Regions from separate parts of the Homo sapiens genome. Here region 2 is linked to region 1. The links are contacts of gene promoters, found by promoter capture Hi-C in human tissues and cell types (Jung and others, 2019). All regions are on one chromosome and are shown on one strand. The core of a region is centred on a gene start or on the middle of the fragment in contact, and the rest is flanking DNA. Distances in the headings are between cores, read along the strand shown. Region 1 holds the start of PLN (phospholamban). Region 2 has its middle 190 kb from the start of PLN.

What was found. Contacts are between HindIII fragments. The study calls those that stand out against the background at their distance.
Region 2: a fragment that was not itself captured here is called in contact with the fragment with the promoter of PLN in region 1 in 1 of the 25 tissues and cell types used here (adrenal gland).

The regions. Positions count from the first base shown.
Region 1 is chr6:118,545,785-118,551,187 of GRCh38, forward strand. It overlaps PLN (phospholamban), which reads left to right and starts at 2,512. Exons shown (of 2, transcript NM_002667.5): 1 at 2,512-2,608. All of the region lies in intron 3 of CEP85L (centrosomal protein 85L), which reads right to left. The HindIII fragment of the contact is 9,299 bases long and covers 845-5,403 here.
Region 2 is chr6:118,352,715-118,358,117 of GRCh38, forward strand. No RefSeq gene overlaps it. Among named protein-coding and RNA genes, the nearest start is that of PLN, 190 kb to the right of the region's middle. The HindIII fragment of the contact is 7,661 bases long and covers 1-5,403 here.

The DNA of each region.
Region 1 (5,403 bases), core at 1,262-3,761:
TCTAAAGGAAAAAAGAAAATAAGTGCTAACACTAAATGAACACTGTTGCAGGATCTCTGATAATCACTATGTACACTTCATGTCATTAAACCATCACAAATACTATTCCACAGATTAGGCTGCTTAGGAAAGTTATTTGTATAAAGCCATGTGACCAAAAATACATTCAAACTATAGTGTAACTCCAAATGAAGACTGTGACAAAGCACCTCAAAAAAATTTTCTAGCCTCTAGCTGAGGAATCATTGAGGAACACTCTACTGATAACACTATAACTCATTAATACTCCTATTAAACAACTTTCTGTTTGGGCAATTAAAAACAATGTTCAGTTAAAACTAAAATCTAATACTTCCTAGAGTTCCACATGAGATCATCACCATCATCGTCATCTTCACTAGCTAACCCAAAGGAACAAGGTAAACACAAAAACTCCCCACTCTTGTACCAATCTAAAAAGTAAATTTTTGAATCCATTTTCCAACTGTGTCACACACAGTTGTTAGTATCCTTCTAAGGTGTGTATATGCCTATGTATACTTTTTAAGTAAACTTATAAACATGTGGTAACTAGGGCATATTTTATTCTGTCTACGGCAGCTTCTTGGTTTATCCAACTAAGTATTACTAATTCTATTTTCTTAGAATGAGAAGTTCTCAGAACAATGATCTATCACCTAAATTTCAAATGAATGTGTAACTGGTAGACAAACTTAAAGCAGACTTTCTAAAACTATTAACAGTGCTCAAGAATGCATCTATTTACATCTTAAAAATTTCTCAGTTACTATATGCTACTCTAATGAAAGCTATATTCAAATTATAATTTTTTCCCACAGCATGCCAACAGATTAGGAATTATAAACAGACAGATCTGGATTTGAATCCTGTCTATTCTTTAGCAGCTGGTTATCTCTGACAAATTACTGTAAACCTCGTTAGGCTTCTCGGTTTTGTATTATCAATCATCATTGGTAACTGATAGTACTGAGAGATCCTCATTATGTAAGGATTGAAAGAAAAATGGTTGTAGCACTGAGAAAAGTATCAAACATTATTCTGCAATTTCCTTAACTTGGGTTTTACTTTTAAGTTGTAAATTTTCCCTTGGCAATGTTCACAGGATATCTTTGCTAAAATATTATTTTTCAGTTAGTTTTAAGCTGACTCTTTAAATATCAAATGATTTGCTCTAGAGATGGATTTTCTTTCTTTGGAAGAAGCCAAGATCATTTCCATTTAAGGGCATGTAAGCAGCTGCTGCTACACATTTTAGTTACCCATAAGAAAGTGAAGTGGGCTAAGTTCACTCTGTCATAAGCATTTAAAAAATTAAAAATTACAAGTACCTCCTCTAAAATTAAAGAAGAGATTTAAGAATTAATATTTTCGAGTGTGGTGACTTAAGTAAATCTAACATCTAAGACAACAAATTAGATAAACAGAGAAGAGGAGAATGATGCCCGGCTTTACAAAAAAATTATTTCCCCAGTTCTACTGTAAGATAAACTGTTCTAGGAAGTTCAAAATATCATCTCACTTACTAGCATCTCATTTTTATAGTAATTTTCAGGAAAGCAACTGCTAGATTAAATGAGGCACATCCTTTCAAAAACATTACAAAACTTAAATTTCAACACATCAAACCTATAAAGCCTCATTAACTGAGATGTAACTGATTTGGAATCTGTAATTATTTCTTTTTTGCCATAAAGTTGCCCTTAATACTGCATCAGTTTATTAAAAATTTGGTAAGATTGTGTAATAATTTAATGCAATTGTTTTTAAAAAATCTTAAATACTTAAAGTAGCATATTGCTATTTTGGGGGTGTTGTATGTATCAGTTTAAATATAAGTATTACTATTCACAAATATATTGTTAAACTGCTAATTGAAGAAAACACAAATGAATTAAATACATTTATTAGTTCTTTAACTGTAAGATAAAAATAATTTTTTAAAACAAAAAGCAATTAGCCTGATTTTCTCATACTCCTTCTCCCATACACACAAGAACAAGAACAAAATAAGAAAACAGGTATAAAATTTTATTGTGTAAAAATATTTCACTTTCACTAAAAGCTAACATTATGAAGACACGTATTAAAGCAACAGCAGCAAGAATTCAATGAAAGTTGTTTTGCTTATACCTGTGTTTATTTTTCTCATAATTAAAATTCCTGCAGTAACTATTTTAGCTCTTCAACATCTTCACCATTAATATTCAATTATCTCTAAGCCTGAAGATGCATGAATCTTTAACAAAAGCTTTCCACCACCTCAAGTTTACTTATTTTTTTCATTTATCTACCATATACTGTTTTAAATTAAAAACAAAAGATGAAGCACAAAGTGTTAATGACTTTTCCATACCTAAAGTAAGAAGTTCTAAAGTTTGGTTGTGATAAGACTGAGACTGTGGCTAACCAATCGAAACTTCAGAATTCCTATGTGACATCATAAGACCTCCCTAGAACACTTTTTCTCCTCCACCTACTGCAACTGTTCCCATAAACTGGGTGACAGAGTCAGAAAACTCCCCAGCTAAACACCCGTAAGACTTCATACAACACAATACTCTATACTGTGATGATCACAGCTGCCAAGGTAAGAAACAGATTTCGCTGACTTTGGTAATTCTTACTTTCTATAATTCTTAATTCCTATAATTTCTATAATCTGAACTTTTAAAATGAGTTAATTTTATGAATATCAGTTCAATCTTAGGCAATAAAATGACATGACAAAGTGCTTAAATTTATAAATGCTTATCCATTTAGTGACAGGAAAAATGAGACAACTTTGAAATGAAAAAGGTCATATTCATCTTTGATCCTGGTTACTGGTTTGTCATTTAAATTTATCTTTCACTTTTATTTTGCTTTTCAAATGTGAATTTCTGCCAATTAAAAAATCTTCCAATTATGTTACCATATTTGGTAGTAGTGGTTAATTTCTCCATGCAAAAACAATGACTTAATTTTGTTATTTATTGCTCTGCTGAGAAACAGTGCAGAACTGAGCTATTTACATCTGAACTAATATGAATAGTCATTTGACTACAACATGCACATTATCAGCATGCCTATTCCAATATTATCATAATTTCATACAGTGAATAATGAAATGGAGTTTCAGAATATATAATACAAGCTACTTTTAAAGTGCCCTTGAGGATGTTTCCCCTCTAAAGTCCAGTCAACTTTTAACAAACATTTCTAAAAAAATTCCATGCTATTAATAAATTGAGTTACTGATATTAAATTCAATATTGTATCATAAAGAAGTTTAGAAATTTTAAAACAATGTTCACAAACACAAAAAATCTGACGTTAGAGAATAATTTGATACTTTAAAAAGTTATTTTGACACACGAATATTCTTAACTATCTTATTTTCACACAAATTTGATTAAATGGATTTCTGCCTATTAATGCCTATAGTTTTGTCAAGTTATTATCCTCCAGTGGTACTCCATTTCCTCTCTCGGATTTAGAAAGAAAGGAAAAAATAAAATAAATGCCAGGAATGGAGATGCCACAATCAATTTTATGACTTCTGTTTGAATTCTACCCTATTCTTTATGTTACAATCCTCAATTTAGTAAATGAAACGTTTCCTCATTCTTAGATCTCTGTCAGGGCATACAGAAAATTACATATATTTTATTTATTTTGATTTTCATATTTCATATATATGTTAAAATAAAATTTATCTCTAAAATTCTCAATTCCTATGACAAATGTTAATTCTATTGCTCACTACAAATAAGAACTTTGTAACTCTGTAAGCAGCTTTCCTTAAGACATAAAAAAACATAATTTTTGTCTACCACTGAGGTATCCTAATTGTGTCTCCATATCTCTATACTCATATTTTTCCTTTGATAGTACATAAAAGTCATTCAGTGTAGGTGTCTTATGTTATTTGTGCATTTTTATTCAAATATCTATCAAATTACATTCTCACACTTCAAATTGGGTGTTCACGAGTTATTTTATTGTATCAGAATTTTGCTATATCACATATTACTCTAAAAAGTACACATACTTCTGGATAGAGCAGAAATTATATTAAACTTACCCTTAGCTCACTAGTATGTCTCAGTTAACAGAAATTACAGTTACAGAGACTGCTAAAATTTCAAATATAATGTGGTAGTACCATACATTGTGTCCCAACTAGTTCATCTATACCTTAAGGTGCAAGTTAAGTATTATCTTTGTTTATGAAGACATGTGGTTTCAAAGTAAGTGCTAAAAAAAGTGTTAGATGAAATCAAATGGAAAAAATATGAAAGATGTTTAAATTAAGAAGCATTAAGTTTTAAAAACGCATGAAAGAGCCAGAGTACTTGCTTTACTAAAAGGCGTGACAGCACTATCATTTCCTAAAACTCAAATATCAAATCCATTTTATTTGTATTTTAGTAGGCATAAAGGAAAATGATCACATTTGGGTATATAATCATATCTTTAATTAGTGAGATTAAGAAATAATAAAATATTGCATAAATACAATAGTTTCAGAAAATTTTAATGTATTTTAATGTTTTAATGTACTCATTACACATGTACACTAAATTATGTAATATATTAAATTTTTAATTAAAAAACCTAAAGTCTAGTTACCTCTCCAAATTAGACAATATATTACCAATCCCAGAAATGAGGAGGGCCAATGAACACTTCTTTTTTATTCTTAAAGAGCAATTTCCTAATATACTCGTGTACACAAATATTTCATTTGGTCCTCTTAATTATATATTTGATACTGCATCCCTATTCTACAATTTAGGAAAGATGCAAAAAGGTGAACTGCTCAAGATCACAGAACTAAGAAAACAGGGAAACCTTGGCAGAAGTTTAGGTTTTGTCACTAAGCCACATGCACATCCTCTATATACTGATCAGCATGGCTTAAAGTAAACCATGACACTGACAAACAAAATTTGAAAGCCCCCAAATACTGTAAATGATATTCTAAAAGGCAAAAGGCAAATTCAGAGAATACAAACTTCTATTTTAATTAAAAGCCATTCCACTCCATTTAAATTCAATTTATGCATAGCATTACATTCTTAATAGTCTAAATTATATTCTACTGATCATTTTCAAAACCAGAAATATACGAAAATTACAGATGCCCTTAGTTATTAAGCAATACCTCCTGGAAGGCAAAATTCAAACTAACTGCACAGACTTTAAAAAAAATAACACACCCCAATCAATCAAAGTTTCCTTTTATTTGTTTCATTGCTAAAATACTCATGCCTTCAATTCATCTGATACCTAAAATCCAAGTTAACATCTCCTCAAAACTTTCACAAAAATCACATTTCGATACTTTATTCTAGGTTCCCTAGAATCAAGTAGTCTCTTTGTACAATTTCAAAGTTCTTA
Region 2 (5,403 bases), core at 1,676-4,175, 190 kb before region 1:
CTCGTTATAGTCAGGAATGAGAAAGGAACATCAACAATTAAATCATACAATTTTATACTTATATGAAGATAACTACAAAACCTCTCACTATGAAACAAATCAATTCCCTATGTGAAAATTAAAAGATAAGTATAAGCCAAAAAATTGGAAGGTAAAAACTTAATATTTTCTTTTATCTCCAGGTAAATACTTGTTAAACAAAAACAAGGAAATCATAAGGGAAAATAGTAGTACAGTTTATTATAAACAATTTTTAAACAACATTAATATGCCAAAAGTGCCATAAATAAAATTTTAAGTATAATAGCGCAAAGAGAAAATATTTGTAAAATGTGACAGTTCATTTGTATTTTCATCATAAATAATTCTTATAAATAATGGGACAAATAACCTACGAGGAAAATGGGCAAAAGACAAAAAAAAAAAAAAAACATGTCCCAACAGTATATTTTTAAAAATCCATCTTACTAAACCATAAAGAACTGAAGATTAATACAACCAAGTGAGTGCTGTGTTATTTTGTTAGACTGTCAAAGAGTTGTAAATGATAATACTATCATGAAATAAGGATTTATATGTCTCTGATTAATGTGAAAATTCATCAAAGAAATTCAGCAATTTGATTTGAATCTTGAAATAAAATTCATGCCCTTCGACCAAGTGTTAGGCCAAGTGTCAGGTTCCAGCCCAAGCTGAGGACTGAGGGGAGTGGGTAGACCAGTGGCAGGTAGCTGGAAGAATACTCAAGGAATCATAAACAGTTTCAACATGGCTTTTACTCTCTCTGGGTGTGAGCAAGCCCAGGTGCAAGCTGTGGGCATAAACCTGGGCACGAGCCTGGCCATGAGCCTGGCCTCAAGCCAACCTGGGTGCAAGCCATAAGTACATTCTCTCTCTGGGAGTGAGCCTGGGCATAACCCATATGTACAGCGTTAGCAGGGTAATTATACCATTTACAGACAACAGTGGCTCCGAGCCAAGCACAAGCTCACATGGGTGATCACCTAATGTGCCTCACATGGTGTGGTTTCATAATGTGCAGAGTTGTGCACCTGCACTCCAAACCCATTGAGTCATGCTACATTGGAAGGCCACCTTGGCCTACCCTTGACTGCAGCACATTCATTTTCCTTACATCAAGTCACTTTAATACTAATACTATTTACTCAGGAAATAATTTTTAAACAATAGACTCAACAACAATAAGCTAGACTATAGCAGAAGAGAACAAAAATGGAAGACAACATGAGGTAGCCAGCAGAGTTCCTTGTGAGAGCAAAAATGAGCCAGTTCCTGTGGAATTCATGGCCTATCTATCAGGAATTGTTGATGGAAAGGGTGCTGTGATGTGGCCATCACTGCTGATGGCCCAGGTATGGCTAGTGACACCCACCAGTGTCCAGGGAACTGATGATGAGGGATTCACAGCCACTGTCTCCTGATAGTCCCACTCCAGGTCTCTATGAGCATAGCAGGCAGTTTACAAAGGGAAAGTCTGTGAACATTTCAGCCTGGTACCGATCCATGTAAATTTGAACAGTAGATGTAACAAAAACTAAACCTTGAATTGTTGCTTATTAACAAACTATAAATTACCTACTACAAGAAATGAAGCCCAGTTGCCAGACCAACATAGGATATGGACAACTAACTAGATGAGGTCTCAGAAAAAGCAATGGAAGGCTTGCTGACTTAGAGTCTAATGCAACTTTAATGTAATCTTTATCAAGCAACTATGCTATAATTTCTCTGTCCATGTTCCATTAGAACATCCAAAATCATCTACCTGAACCATCAATCCCTTGCTGCCATTCTTGATGACAAGTTGGGATTTTCTAATTCAGTAAAAAAATAGAGTATAAGAAACTAGCCGCATGTAAAAACCCCAAGCTTAGACAATCTCTCACTGAGCCAGATAGAGGGAGCCTGGATAAAAATCAACACACTATGCCATCCATTGCAGCTATTATTAATTCAAAATTCCCCTAACACTTGTGACAAATTTTTAACATATCTAAAATTGATAGTTCCATGTGTGCCAAACACCCTTTATATGGCCTATGGATGCAAACAGACATTGTTGGCTTTGTTCAACTTTATGCCTTTCTCTATTTTACTCATTATACCTCAAACCACATTGTCACTTTCAGTTCCTCAAATACATCAAGCTTATTTCTTTCTTGAGATTTATGTACCTGCTGATCCCACCTCCAGGAATGCCGTTCCCTTGAGTCTTTACATACCTACTTACCCTTCAAGTCTCAGAACAAATGAGACGTTTCTTGACCTTTCTAGTGATTCTCAACTAGCCCTGTATAATTGGTTCTCAAACTTGGCTGTACATTGGAATCATCTGAGGTTTTTTAAAAACATTGATGCCTGCATCTCCTCCCCAAAAATTCTGATTTAATTTGTCTGGGGTAAAGTCTTGGCATTTAATTTTTAAAATACCCCCAGGTGATTCTAAATTGCATGAAATTTTAGAATCACTGGCCTATATCTTTTCACCATATTTGTTTCCTTTATAGCACTTTGCAGGCTATAATAGTGATTAATGTGCTTTTTTTAAATTTATTGGCTGTTGACCATAAAGGCAGGATTTATGTTTATTTTATTTATCACCAAAAGTATTTGATGAGTGAATACATAATGGAAAAAAATCACTGAGCATTTCATATTCGACATTAAAAAGTCATAGTAGCCCAAACTACCACTTCTGCAAGTTCAATGTTCCTATAAATCATCTAGCGTCTTGTCAAAATATGAATTCACATTCTGTATGATTTGGGAGAAGGCCGAGATTTTACACTTCTAACAAACTCCCACATTTTGGGTAGCAAGGGTCTAACATAATGTTTGCCCGAACATCCCTAAAAATAAGAGTCACTTGCAACCTCTAACTAAAAGAACAAATTACTGGTTCCCAATTCAGAATTACTTAATCAGAATTTCCATAGGAGGAGAATGGTAATCTGCATATATAATATGCATCCCAGCTGATTATTAACTTCAGGGAGGTTTGGTAAGCTGAAGAGTTACTCAGATACTATTACTTATTGTGTCTGTTTTCAAAAGTAATAAAAGGAAATTGCTAATTAGATTAGCAATTAACCCCCCTCCCCCCTATATATAAATAAAACTCTGGACAAAATAGAATGAAAAACTACCTGAAGATTCTGGAGAATAACAAAAGCAAGTAGATTCTGAAAGGAAGCTGACACTTGAGAAAAGAAACTGGTAAGGGGTTGCTTTTCCCTTTTTATGGCATTTAGTCCCAAATCAGTCATGCTGAAGTCTGTCGGTAAAGAGAAGCTAAAACTCTAATGAAAAAACAGAAGTCTAGGAGAACAGACTTCAGGGTAACCATGGTCACTTGATTATATAGGAGGAAGGCTAAAAAGTAGCGACCCAGAGGGAAAGAGCCCAAAATCTGTGTGCAAACTTTTGCCTGAATCTCTAGCTAAGCCCTGAACTGTGCATGGGTGGGTAGTCTGCAAGCAAACCACCTAAGGATAAAACAACTGAATGGAGATTTGAGTAACTGCCAAGAGGCATAGTTTGCAAGTTTAAGTCTAACAAACTTCACTGGCAACCAAAATAAAATTGCCAACATTCTTAAGAGGATTATAATTGAATCCAGTCTCCATAACACAACATTCACAATGTCCAAGATAGAAATCAAAATTAGATACAAAAAGACAAATATTGTGTTATTCTACTTATGTAAGGTATGTAGAATAGGCAAACTCATAAGGACAGAACATAGAAGTTACCAGGGGCTGGAAAAAGGGAGACTGAGACTCTGGAACTCTTTAATAAACAGAGTTTCCATTGGGATGATGAAAAAGATCTGGAGATGGACAGTGGTGATGATTCCACACATTGTGAAGTACTTATTGCCACTGCAATGTACCCTTAAAAATGGTTAACATTATACATTTTATATTGTGTATGTTTTGCCATAAAATAGAAAATAAACCCACTATAACAGAAATGAAGCCTGCTTTCAGTAGATCATCAGTAGACTGAGCACAGGTTAGAAAAGAAGCTGTGAGCTTGAAGATATGTCAACAGAAAATTCCAAAATGAAGAGTAAAGAGAAAAAAGAATGAAATAAAAAGGAATAGAATATCCAAGAACTATGGGACAATTATAAAACTGTAGGACAATGATGCAATATATGTGTAATGAGAATGCCAGAAAGAGAAAAAAGAAGAGAAAGAAACAGAAGAAATATTTTAAGTAATAATGGCTAAGGATTTTCCAAAATTAATGTCAGACACCAAAACATGGATTCAGGTAGCTCAGAGAGCAACAACCAGGATAAACACCAAAATATCTATACCTAGGAATATCATATTAAAACTGCAAAAAAAATACAAAGAGAAAATGTTGAAAAAAGCCATAGAATAAAAATACTTATAGAGAAACAAGAATAACAATTACATCAGACTTATCTTCAGAAATCATGGCAGCAAGAATAATGTGGAGGGAAATATTTTAAATGTTGAAAGAAAAAAACCCACTAAGTGAGAATTCTGTTTCTACTGAAATTATCCTTCTAAAGTGAAGAAGAAATAAAGATTTTCTCAGGCACACAAAAATTGAGATAATTTGTTGACAGTATAACTGCTTTACAAGAAATATTAAAAGAAGTTCTTCAGAGAGAAGGAAAATGATATAGGTTGGAAACTCAGACCTACGTAAAGAAAGGGAGCTGGTGAAGGAATAAATGAAGGTGAAATAAAGTCTTTTATTTTTCTTGTTCTCAATTGATTTAACAAACAAGAGTTTATTCAAAATAATAATAGAAACAATCATTGAGTGATTATAATTTATAGAGAAGTGAAATGCAATACAATAAGGTAGAGAGGGAGGGACTTAGGAATATTCTGTTACAAGGGCTTGCACTAGTCATGAAACAGTATAGTATTATTTGAAATTGGACTTGGATTAGTTGTAAATGCATATTGCAAACTCTAGGGGAACCACTAAAAAAGTTGTTTTTTTTTTAAGAAGGATAATATATATGATAGAAAAGGAGAAGAAAGAGAATCATATAAAATGCCCAATTAAAATCAGTGAAGGCAGGAAAAGTATGAAAGACAAAAAAGAAAACCATGGCAACAAATAGAAAACAGATACAAATATGGTTGATATTGATCCAACTATATCAATAATCACTTTATATGTGAATGGTCTAAATACACCCATTAAAACACAGAGGCTATTGGAGTGGATAAAATGAACAAACAAACCAAAAAAAAAAAAAAAAGACCCAACTATATTTTGTCTAAAATAAATCCACTTCATATATATGAAGACATAAATAGATTAACAGTAAAATAATGAAGATATACTATGCTGACACTAATCAAAAGAAAATAGAAATAACTATATAGA